Linked DNA regions of Homo sapiens: regions 1 and 3 are each linked to region 2. The links are contacts of gene promoters, found by promoter capture Hi-C in blood cells and fetal thymus (Javierre and others, 2016). All regions are on one chromosome and are shown on one strand. The core of a region is centred on a gene start or on the middle of the fragment in contact, and the rest is flanking DNA. Distances in the headings are between cores, read along the strand shown. Region 1 overlaps ADAMTS10 (ADAM metallopeptidase with thrombospondin type 1 motif 10). Region 2 holds the start of RAB11B (RAB11B, member RAS oncogene family). Region 3 overlaps NFILZ (NFIL3 like basic leucine zipper).

Region 1 (3,746 bases), core at 1,236-3,735, 200 kb after region 2:
AGTGAGGCCAAGAGGGACAGACCCCAGACCCAAGAGGAAGGGCAGCTTGGGCAGAGGGAGTGGGGGCTCCCAGCGTCACGTTGAACCCCCATGGTACCGTATCCCAGGTACTCTGTCTCCCCGGGTGGGGACAGGGCTCAGGGCAGACCCCGGGATGCTGCATTCATCCACCTGCTGCTGGACACTCCCACGGCTGCCCTTCACGGCCCCACAGCCTTTGGAGTCCCACACTCACCTCCCCGGTACGTTTTCCACTTGTAGAATTTCCCACGGAAAGGGATGCTGTCAAATTCAGAACACTGCACTTCTCTGAAGTCCTGGGAGCCAGGGGGACAGTCCTGGGGGCAGGAGAGGAGAGATGGAGGGAGGCCAGGCTTGGGGGGATGGAGTCAGAAAAGGGGTGCTCAGAGAAAGATGGGCTGGAGGAGGGAGGCTAGAGGCAGGGAGGCCAGGGAGGAGGCTGTGGTGGTCTGCGTGAGACTAGGCCTGGAAGGTAGCCTGGGCTGGGCGTGTAGACACATCTGGGATAGGACTGGATCCCTCATTAGAGGTCTGAGGGTGAGCTGGGCAGGACACACCTGGGTTTCTGGTTCCAGGCTATGGAATCTTTCTTGCTTGCTTGCATTTTTTTTCTTTTTTGAGACAGAATCTCACTCTGTCGCCCAGGCTGGGGTACAGTGCATGATCTTAGCTCATTGCAACCTCCATCTCCTGGGTTCAAGCAATTCTTCTGCCTCAGCCTCCCGAGTAGCTGGGATTACAGGTGCATGCCACTATGCCTGGCTAATTTTTGCATTATTTATTTATTTATTTATTTATTTTTAGACAGAGTTTCGCTCTCGTTGCCCTAGTTGGAGTGCAGTGACACAATCTCGGCTCACTGCAACCTCCGCTTCCTGGATTCAAGTGATTCTCCTGCCTCAGCCTCCCAAGTAGCTGGGACTACAGGCGCGTGCCACCACGCCTGGCTAATTTTTTGTATTTTTAGTAGAGACGGGGTTTCACCATGTTAGCCAGGCTGGTCTCGAACTCCTGACCTCAGGTGATTGACCCGCCTCGGCCTCCCAAAGTGCTGGGATTGCAGGCATGAGCCACCTCATCCGGCCTAATTTTTGTATTTTTAGTAGAGATGGGGTTTTGCCATGTTGGCCAGGATGGTCTCGAACTCCTGACCTCAGGTGATCTGCCTGCCTCAGCCTCCCAAAGTGCTGGGATTATAGGTGTGAGCCACTGCACCTGGCCACATGGAGTCTTTCTTGAGAGAGAAGGTCTGGAAGGGATCAGGGTTTATAGAAAGTGCTAGCATGTGGATTCTCTGAAGACCTGGTTCCCCCCAGCTGGGAGGCTGAAAAGTCCAAAGCTCTCACTGCCCTCTAAAACACCCCCTCCCCAGTAAACTTCTCACTGCTCACTGATGGTTGCAGGTCAGCTGAGGGCACAAGCAGAGGACAGACACCTGTCACTGGGTTTGGTGAGAGGAAGCTTCAGCTACAACTTTGGGGGATGACAGAAGGCAGGGGTAGGACTCTTCAGGGGAAGTTGGGCTGTAAAGGGAGGGGAGAGACTGGATGGTAGGGGGTTGTGAGGGCCAAGCAGTGATTTCAAGGTGGGGGCTTGTAGTCTAAATGTAGGAGGAAAAGAGAGCTGGAAGGAGCCAGGTCTTTAAGGAGGAGGGGTTGGGGACGAGAAGGTGGTGGGGGTCAGGGAGAGGAGGGAAGAGAGGGGTGGCGGCTGCAGGTTCCCCAGGAGGCAGCAGGTGCCTGGATGAAGCACTCTGATAGCGTTTTTGTTTTTTTTTTTTTTTTTGAGATGGAGTTTCGCTCTGTCACCCAGGCTGGAGTGCAGTGGTGCGATCTCGGCTCACTGCAGCCTCCGCCTCCCGGGTTCAAGCGATTCTCCTGCCTCAGCCTCCCGAGTAGCTGGGATTACAGGCGCCTGCCACCACGCCCAGCTAATTTTTGTATTTTTAGTAGAGACGGGGTTTCACTATGTTAGCCAGGATGGTCTCGATCTCCTGACCTCGTGATCCGCCTGCCTTGGCCTCCCAAAGTGTTGGGATTACAGGCGTGAGCCACGGTGCCCGGCCTCTGATAGCTGTTTTTAATGCTTCCTCCCCCCACCCCTCAAGGGGTTTGGGGGAACTCACATCCGTGTTGCAGGAGCGGTGCCGCCTTCTCTCACCCAGACAGTACTTGCCCCCGATGGTTGGCCTGGAAAGGGTGGTGGGATAGGAGAGGGATGAGGCAGTGGGCGATGGGGGCAGGGGTCGCGCTGCCCTCCCGGGTGGGGGTCCTGAGGGCTGACCTGGGGCTGTCGCAGTGACGGCTAGAAGAGGACACGCCGCCGCCACAGGTCCGGCTGCAGTCGCCCCATGGAGTCCACGGCCCCCAGGCTCCGTCCACACCCTCTGGGCGCGACCCAAAGGGGACACAGACCCGTTTGTAGCACCACTGGGTGGGGGGAGACAGGAAGGAGTGAGTCCAGCCCGGAGGACACTCGTCGGCCCCATGCACCGTTCCCCACTCCAGGCCCCAGCCAGAGATATCAGCCTCTCCGGGATGGGCAGAGGCGGGGTCTGAACATGCGAACAGAGTCAGGTTACGTAGGAGAGTGGTCTGGGAGACAGACCAGGTACAAGCGAGAGGCGTGGCCTGAGCACAGGGTGCTTAACGGGGAGGGGTGTAGACAGGACCACGATAAGCGTGGAGACGAGGTGGGGCGTGGCTTCAGGCTGGGGAGGGGAGGTCTACAGGCAGTAGGCGTGGCCAGAGCCGAGGGCAGCACAGGGGATGGGCGTGGCCAATGAGGGAGAGAGCAAACAGTAGGCGTGGCCAGAGCCGTGGGAATCATTACACGGTGGGCGTGGCCAACGCGGGAGGGAGTTAAACAGTAGGCGTGGCCAGAACCAAGGGACGCATAGACGGTGGGCGTGGCCAACGCGGGAAGGAGCAAGCAGTAGGCGTGGCCACAGCCGAGGGAGCACAAATGGCGGGCGTGGCCAATGTGGGAGGGAGCAGATAATAGGCCGAAGGACAGGCGGGTAGGCGTGGCCAACGCGGGAGGTGGCTCAGGGGGCGTGGCCCAGTTGGGGGCCCTGGCCGGCGCTCACCCCCTTGTCGATGGTGTGCGTCTGGCACAGCGTGCCCTCGGCGGCCGGGATGCTGTTGGTGATGCACCGGTTGCTCTTGCTCAGACACCACAGCTCGCTGCAGACCTCCTGCGGGCCGAGGTGCCCGCTCAGGCTCGCCCCCCTCCCTTCCTCCCTGGGGCAGCCCGCCCGGCTTGGGAGGACCCAGATGTCCGGCTCACTGCCGGTCCCAGAGCAGAGAGCCCGGTGCTCCCTTCCTGGCTCGCGGTGGGTCTTCGTGCATCCCCTTGCGGGGCATGGCCTGTGACTTATACTCTCCCAATAAGCTCCATTTATGGAGCACTTTATACATGCCATATACCTCTTTAGGCAGTACTACCCCATCTTACTGGGAGAAAACCAAGCTTCAGACAGGTAAGGTCACACAGCTACTAAGGGAATAGCCTGGAGTTTAACCCAGCTCTTTAATTCAGAGTCTGTGCTCTAACGAACTTTGCAATTCAGTTCCTGGTGCCTTCTGAGTTTCTGGAAGGAAACGTGGGAACTGCTGAGGAATGAACAGGAAGGATTTGGGGTTCTTTTATGGGATGGGCAAAGTAGCCGAAGAGAAAGTGGTGGTTCTGAGAAATCGGCCTGGATGATGACTAGGCCAACGGCC
Region 2 (3,664 bases), core at 182-2,681:
TTGGCCATGTGTGGTGAAAATGCCTGTAATCCCAGCACTTTGGGAGGCCAAGGTGGGCGAATCACCTGAGGTCAGGAGTTCGAGATCAGCCTGACCAACATGGAGAAACCCCGTCTCTACTAAAAATACAAAAAAATTAGCCAAGCATGGTGGTGCATGCCTGTAATCCCAGCTATTCGGGAGGCTGAGGCATGAGAATCGCTTGAACCCGGGAGGCAGAGGCTGCAGTGAGCCGAGAGCACACCATTGCACTTCAGCCTGGGCAACGACAGCAAAACTCCGTCTCAAAAAAAAAAAAAAAAACTGTCATAATTATTATTTCACTGGGTACATGTGTATCAAAACACACGCTGTACACCCTAAATATATAAAACAAACACATACTGTATTGTCAGGTAGTGATAAATCCTATCACTACCTGACAATACAGCAGTATGTGTTTTATTTTCTATATTACCTATTTTTATATTTTACCTATGTGGCAAAATATAGGACAAAAGAGGGGTAGTGGTAGGAGGTCCTGTTGGAGAGCATTGGTATCCAGTAAGGATTTAAAAGTATTTATTTAACAAAGAATAGCAGAAAGTGGACGGTTGATTCACACTTGGTGCAATCTCGGCTCACTGCAACCTCCACCTCCCAGGTTCAAGCGATTCTCCTGCCTCAACCTCCTGAGTAGCTGGGTTTACAGGCACCAGCGACCACGCCCGACTAATTTTTGTATTTTTAGTAGAAACGGGGTTTCACCATGTTGGTCAGGCTGGTCTCGAACTCCTGACCTCGTGATCCGCCAGCCTCGGCCTCCCAAAGTCCTGGAATTACAGGCGTGAGCCACCGCGCCTGGCTGATCTGGTTATTTTCAAAAGATTCCATGAGACGGGTTTCTTCAGTTTACAGAGGAGGAAACTGAGGCACAGAAGGATAACCCAGTGAGTCCCAATATAGAGATGGAGACTGCAACCGAGAAAGGGGACCCAGCGCTGAGGTCCCCGGAAATGGTCATTTATGGGCTTGGGGGGCGACCAGGGCAGCGCGCGCTGACCTATGACGTCATCGGGACGTTAAGCATCGTAGCATTACCTGGACGTAGCCCCATTTCTCTTCCCGGACAGGTCCTCTGATAGTCGGGTAGGTTCTCAATCAAGCCTCTCATTAGTTATTTGGTCTGTCAATCCATTTCATTCCTGCAGTCTTCCGCCCCGCCCTCTTGAGCTCGCCCCTGATAGGCTGGCGCGTCCGTCACTTCAAAAAGGTCCGCATTCCTTCCGCCTTTCTCCAGGACACCGAGGGCGAGGAGGGTGGTACCAAGCGGCGCCCACCCTCAGAGCACTACTTCCATCTCTGATTGGCTTCGCTGGGTGCCCGTCGCTACTCCACTCGCCGCTGATAGGCCATTCAACCGCCGCTCTGCGCGGCGCCGGCTCCGCCCCCGTCGGGTGTTTGTGGTGGGGCTGCGGAGTCGCCGATCCCGCCGGAAGCGCCAGGACAATGGGGACCCGGGACGACGAGTACGACTACCTATTCAAAGGTGCGGCCGGTGGGGCACAGACGGGCGAAGTCGTGGCGGCGAGGCGGCGGGCAGACGGGCCAAGGCCGCGCTCCAGGCCGCTGGGCCCAGGCCGGAGCCCGGGGCTTGGGGCCCGGCGGGTCAGGCAGCCGGGAAGGCCGGAGCCGACCGGGCAGCATCAGCTTCGGGCTAGGATGCGCGGCTATACGGAGCCGGAGGCCCGGAGAGACCTGGGGGACCTAGGACGCGCCGGGGCGGGGCCAGAGCCTAGAGGGGGTGGGGCCCGGAGCGGTGGGAGAGGCTGTTAGGGCGGGGCCTCCGCAGGGGGTGGAGCTTTCCCAAGATTTGGCGGGCCGGGCTGGGCTGAAAGCGTGATTCGGGATGGGGGCGGGGTTTTTAGGGGCGGGGCTAAGGCGTGATGGGCGTGACCAATAGGTGGGTTGGGCCTGGGCAAACGGAGGCGGGGCTCTCACGAGGCTTGTCCTGATTGGGGCAGCGTGTTTGGGGGTGGGGCCCGGGAGAGGCGGGGCAGGCAATGGGGGCTGGGCCGAGATGAGGGCCTGGGGGTGAGGTGTGTGGTGGTGGGAGCCTTGGATTGGGGTGCAAAGCTGGGATTGAGTGGAAAGGCACCCGTGTGTGCAGCAAGAATTCCATCTCTTCACTCAGAACTCTCAACAGTGCTAAGCCAGTACTTGCACTTTTCTGAGCACTTTACCCGAATTAACTAAAATCCTCACTGCAGCCCTTTGAGGTTGATACTAACCAGCCTCTCTTTTTACACGTTGGGAAACTGAGGCCCAGAGTGACAAAGACACAGTTTATAAGTGTTGGAACCCGATTGAGCCCAGGCCACCTGTAGGCCTTACCACTTAGGAAGCGTGTCTTAGGGGGCTTGTGGCCAGCATCTGGGACTTTGGGTTGTTGGACCAACTTCTTCCAACACGTGCGCACTGATGGCCGGGGCCCCAGCCAGCCTGCTGGAGGGTCTTCCCCGCCCGAGGGACTGAGGGGGCTCTAGGAGCATCACATAAGGCCTAGGTAGATCAGGCAGCCATTGCCCATTTAGGGACAGCTGGAGGAAGCCGGAGTCCCTTGTTTCTCAGCTGAGCCTTCTGTGCCCAGCTACACTTTGGCCTAGTGGTCTGCCCTGGTTGCTGGGCTCCCTGGCTGACAATGGCAGCCCTTGAGGGCTAACCCCTGGATCCAAGGTGCCTTCACCCTGCGGCCTGCTCTATGAGGGCCTGCGTCGCACATCAGCTGTTGGTATCCTCACCTCGCTGAGCCGTTCCTCCGAGTGTGCTCTGTGGCTTGCACCAGGCCTAGCTGGGCCTTGTGTCTGGTCTCATCCAGCGTCTTCTGATTGTGGGGAATGAGGCAGAGGTCTCCCCACCTGGGCTGTCCGTGTGGCGAAAGCCTTCCGGGGGGAGGGAGAGGAAGTGCCTCTACAAGGGCCTAGAGTCGTCCTGTGGCACTGAGGGCTCTGGCAGCTGCACACAGGTTGATAATGTCACTGGTGGGTGAGGCTCTGTGGTCAGCAGGTGCCCGGCCCAAGGTCTCGCCCCTCGTGGCAGGAGGAAGCTTTGGAAGGGTTTTGGAGACTGGGATTCTAAGGGGCCGTCTGGAGACAGGGGGACTAAACTTTGGGTCCTGCTGATCGGGTGCCATCTCCACTCAGCCCACCGTGAGGCAGCTGCTCCCAGGTCCTGGCTGGGCACCCACCCAGACGTGGCACTGCCAGGGCAGGGGTGTTGCTCCCCACATGCCCCATCCAGGTTTCTGTGGTTATCCCCTGCTTGTTATTTTTGCCCTTTTGCTGTGTTAAATGACCCAGCTCCGAGTGCTTGCTCAAGTCATGGTTTTGCCCTTTAGATTATTTCCTTGAAGTGCGTTCCCAGCAGAACAGTTACTGGGTCAGGAGCAATGGAGAGGCTGTGTGGTTCCCGGGACTTGTCTGCAGAGACTGCTTCCTGGAAACACTGATTTAGCTTCTGCGGCATCTGGCATTTGGCGGGCAGGCGGTGTGGGGTGGGGGGGGGCGGTGCCTGCCCTGCTGCCCTCCCCACACTGGCCTCCTTTTACTGAGTCTAGCAGGTGCCCTGCTGACCTTCTCAAGCTAGTTGGTAGCAAAAATCTAACCCACAAGTTCAGCTTTTCCCA
Region 3 (4,009 bases), core at 419-2,918, 250 kb after region 2:
GCATCAAGCCAAGATGGCCCCACTGCACTTTAGCCAAGACCCTATCACAAACAAACAAACAAACAAACAAACAAACAAACAAACAAAAAAACAAAAAAACCAGTGTAATTTACTGACAGTGAAACCCATACATATTAGTATACGATTCTGTGATATTTGACAAACCACACAACCCTATAACCACAACCTCAATAGAAATACAGAATACCGGCCAGGCCTGGTGGCTCACACTTGTAATCCTAGCACTTTGGGAGGCTGAGGCGGGTGGATCACTTGAGGTCAGGAGTTCAAGACCAGCCTGGCCAACATAGTGACTCTCTGTCTCTACTAAAAATACAAAAATTAGCCGGGCATGGTGGTGGGCACCTGTAATCCCAGCTACTCAGGAGGCTGAGGCAGGAGAATCGCTTGAACCTGGGAGGCGGAGGTTGCAGTGAGCCGAGATCATACCACTGCACCTCAGCCTGGGCAACAGAGCAAGACTCCATCTCAAAAAAAAAAAAATTAAAAAAAAAAAAAAAGAAATACAGAATACCTTTTTCCCTCCCAATTCCTGCAATTCCTGCGTGCCCCTCTGGAGTCAATTTCTCTCCCTCAGTCCCAGCCCCTGGCCCCTGCTGACTTCCTCTCTGTTGCTATATTTCTGCCTTTTCCCAGGATATTATGTCAATGGAATCGTACCATAGGCAGCTTTTGGCGCATACTTCTTCCAGGCAGCAGAATGCATTTGAGGCTTATTCACGTTGTTGGGTGTAGCATTTTTTGTTTCTTTTACTGTTGAGGAGTCCCTGGTATGGATGTGTCACCATGCATCCATTCATTTGTTGACAGACACGTGAGTTGTTTCCAGTTTTGGTGACGAATGCCCAAATTCATAGGCGATGATAAATAATGTGCCAGACGTTGATGTGCAAGTTTTGGTGTGAGGGTAAGTTTCCATTTCTCTACGGTGAATACCTATGAGTCCTTATTCTCTCTCTCTGTCTCTGACTTTCTCTTTCTCTCTTTATTTATTTGTTTATTTATTTTTATTTATTAGACAGGGTCTTGCTCTGTCACCCAAACTGGAGTGCAATGGTGCAGTCTTGGCTCATTGCCACCTCTGCCTCCTGGGCTCAAGCTATTTTCCTGTCTCAGCCTCCAGAGTAGCTGGAATTACAGGTGCGCACCACCACACCCAGCTGATTTTTGTATTTTTAGTAGAGAGGGGGTTTCACCGTATTGCCCAGGCTGGTGTTGAACTCCTGGCCTCAAGTGTTCTACCCGGCTCATCCTCCCAAAGTACTGGTATTACAGGCATGAGCCACCACACCCAGCCAAAACCAGCCTTTTAAAAAAATTTTATTTTCGGCTGGGCGCGGTGGCTCATGCCTGTAATCTCAGCACTTTGGGAGGCCGAGGCGGGTGAATCACGGGGTCAGGAGTTCGAGACCAGCCTGACCAACATGGTGAAACCCCGTCTCTACTAAAAATACAAAAATTAACTGGGCATGGTGGCACACGCCTGTAGTCCCAGCTACTTGGGAGGCTGAGGCAGGAGAAATGCTTGAACCTGGGAGGCGGAGGTTGCAGTGAGCCGAGATTGCGCCATTGCACTCCAGCCTGGGCAACACAGCGAGACTCCATCTTTTTTTTTTTTTTTTTGAAACAGAGTCTTGCTCTGTCGCCCAGGCTGGAGTTCAATGGCGCCATCTCGGCTCACCGCAACCTCTGCCTCCTGGGTTCAAGCAATTCTCCTCCCTTAGCCTCCTGAGTAGCTAGGATTACAGGCATGCACCATCATGCCCAGCTATGTTTTTTTTTTTAATTTTTATTTTTAGTAGAGACGGGGTTTCACCATGTTGGTGAGGCTGGCCTTGAACTCCCGACCTCAGGTGATCAGCTTGCCTTGGCCTCCCAAAGTGCTGGGATTACAGGCGTGAGCCACCATGCTTGGCTAATTTTTGTATTTTTAATAGAGGTGAGGTTTCACCCTTTTGCCCAGGCTGGCCTCGAACTCCTGACCACAAGTGATCCGCCCACCTTGGCCTCCCAAAGTTTTGGGATTACAGGCATTAGCCATTGCGCCTGGCCTATATGGAGGCTTTTGTATGGAGAGACAGGACACTGGTCCCCTGGATACTGGAGGGGGACAGTCAGGGATAGAGCTGGGGCCAAGGGGAAGATATAGAAGTGCGAATCAGGTGAGGTATAGGACAGGGTGCCTGGAGGGGAGGCCAGAATCTTCATTCTAACCAAATCCTTGCCTAGTTTTTAAAAAAATGGGCAAGGCTGAATGTGGTGGCTCATACCTGTAGTCCCAGTACTTTAAGAGGCCAAGGCAGAAGGATCACTTGAGCCCAGGAGTTCGAGGCTGCAGTGAGCTAGGACTGTGCACTCCAGCCGGGTGTGATGACGCACACATATAATCTCAGCTCTCAGAAGGCTGAAGCAGGAGAGTCACTTGAATCCAGGAGGCAGAGATTGTAGTGAGCTGAGATCACACCACTGCACTCCAGCCTGGGCAATAGAAAAAAAACCAAAACCAAACCAAAACAAAACCTTAAACACAAAGTTACCATAGAACTCAGCAACTCCTGAGGTCAGGAGTTCGAGACCAGCCTGACCAACATGGTGAAGCCCCTTCTCTACTAAAAATACAAAAATTAGCAGGGAATGGCGGTGCATACTTGTAGTCCCAGCTACTTGGGAGGCTGAGGCAGGAGAATAGCTTGAACTGGGGAGGTGGAGGTTGCAGTGACCCGAGATTGCACCACTGCTCTCCAGCCTAGGCGACAGAGTGAGACTCCATCTCAAAAAAAAAAAAGGCCGAGTGCAGTGGCTCACGCCTGTAATTCCAGCACTTTGGGAGGCTGAGGCATGTGGATCACCTGAGGTCAGGAGTTTGAGACCAGCCTGACCAACATAGTGAAACTCCATCTCTACTAAAATACAAAAAATTAGCCAGGCATGGTGGCAGATGCCTGTAATCTCAGCTACTTGGGAGGCTGAGGCAGGAGAATCACCTGAACCAGGGAGGCGGAGATTGCAGTGAGCTGAGATTGCGCCACTGTACTACAGCCTGGGCGACAAGAGCAAGACTAAAGATGGTCTCAAAAAAAAAAAAAAAAAAAAAAGAAAAGAACAGAAAAAGAAAAACAAAAAGCCTCCACATAGTCCCCTTGCTCTTGTAGAACAGAGAAGGACTTCATAGACCTTTCCCCAACACAGGTTAGTGCCAGCATGACCTTGCCAGGCCACCTTAATAGAGCAAAGATCAGTAGATGCTATGGGAAGTCAAATTTTCTCAACATTAGAAACTCTTTCCAACACACAGAAAAATGGAAAGAATTGGGCACAGGCACACTCACCCCTAGATTCTACAACGAACTCATTGCCATTCCGCGGTAAACGCTAAGCCAGGCGTCACACGCTATGCTGTGTGATGCTAGAAGTGCGCACACTTATCCTGTTGGTGGTGGAATTTACACGTGCGTTCATGAGTGTGCACGTGCGTTAGCCGCTGTGTGCATTTGTGGGCGTGCAAAGGGATGTGCCTGGGGGAAAACCTCACACAGTGGTTAGGAAGCCTGTGCAGTTGAACTGTGGGGGCTCCCGTCTTGCTTCTGCCACTTAAGGACTGTGGGGCCTTGGGCGAATTGCCCAACTTCTCTCCTGCCCGTTTCCTCTTTCAGTGTGGATTCATTCATTCAACAAATATTTACGGAACGAACACCTCCTGCGTGCCAGGCTCCATTCCAAGCACTGGGGGTTGCAGCGGCGAACAAAACAGACCCAAATGCCTGCCCTGGTGGGCCAGGAAGGCAGAAATAAAGATGAAGAGTTGGTCAAGTCTGCAGTATGTCACAGGGTGGTAGGGCTGCGTTTGTGTACATGGGGAAGAGGCTGCAGCTTTAGAGGTGGGGGGACCTCCCGGGGAAGGTGAGGAGAGTGAGGTGCTTCTAGGGGGATGGAGGGGAGGGGAGAGTCTTTCTGGCAGAGGGCAAAGCAAGTGCAAAGGCCCTGAAGC

Evidence for each region. The method cuts DNA at HindIII sites, captures the fragments that hold promoters and counts their contacts. A CHiCAGO score of 5 or more calls a contact.
Region 1: a fragment that was not itself captured here is called in contact with the fragment with the promoter of RAB11B in region 2 in 4 of 17 cell types (non-activated CD4 T cells, naive CD4 T cells, fetal thymus and 1 more); the score reaches 6.5 in non-activated CD4 T cells.
Region 3: a fragment that was not itself captured here is called in contact with the fragment with the promoter of RAB11B in region 2 in 1 of 17 cell types (neutrophils); the score reaches 6.4 in neutrophils.

The regions. Positions count from the first base shown.
Region 1 is chr19:8,589,654-8,593,399 of GRCh38, forward strand. ADAMTS10 (ADAM metallopeptidase with thrombospondin type 1 motif 10) reads right to left here. Exons shown (of 26, transcript NM_030957.4): 13 at 3,110-3,217; 14 at 2,305-2,450; 15 at 2,147-2,210; 16 at 236-338. Among named protein-coding and RNA genes, the nearest start is that of MYO1F, 14 kb to the left of the region's middle. RefSeq lists an enhancer at 2,148-2,746. The HindIII fragment of the contact is 2,010 bases long and covers 1,481-3,490 here.
Region 2 is chr19:8,388,929-8,392,592 of GRCh38, forward strand. RAB11B (RAB11B, member RAS oncogene family) reads left to right here and starts at 1,432. Exons shown (of 5, transcript NM_004218.4): 1 at 1,432-1,528. The coding sequence starts at 1,489. RAB11B-AS1 (RAB11B antisense RNA 1) reads right to left here and starts at 1,763. Exons shown (of 3, transcript NR_038237.1): 1 at 1,081-1,763. It overlaps MIR4999 (microRNA 4999), which reads right to left and starts at 452; the gene lies at 362-452. RefSeq lists silencers at 1,064-1,345, 1,565-1,824 and an enhancer at 1,095-1,294. The HindIII fragment of the contact is 8,866 bases long and covers 1-3,083 here.
Region 3 is chr19:8,634,819-8,638,827 of GRCh38, forward strand. It overlaps NFILZ (NFIL3 like basic leucine zipper), which reads left to right. Exons shown (of 6, transcript NM_001378600.1): 3 at 832-928. Among named protein-coding and RNA genes, the nearest start is that of NFILZ, 6.2 kb to the left of the region's middle. The HindIII fragment of the contact is 6,295 bases long and covers 1-4,009 here.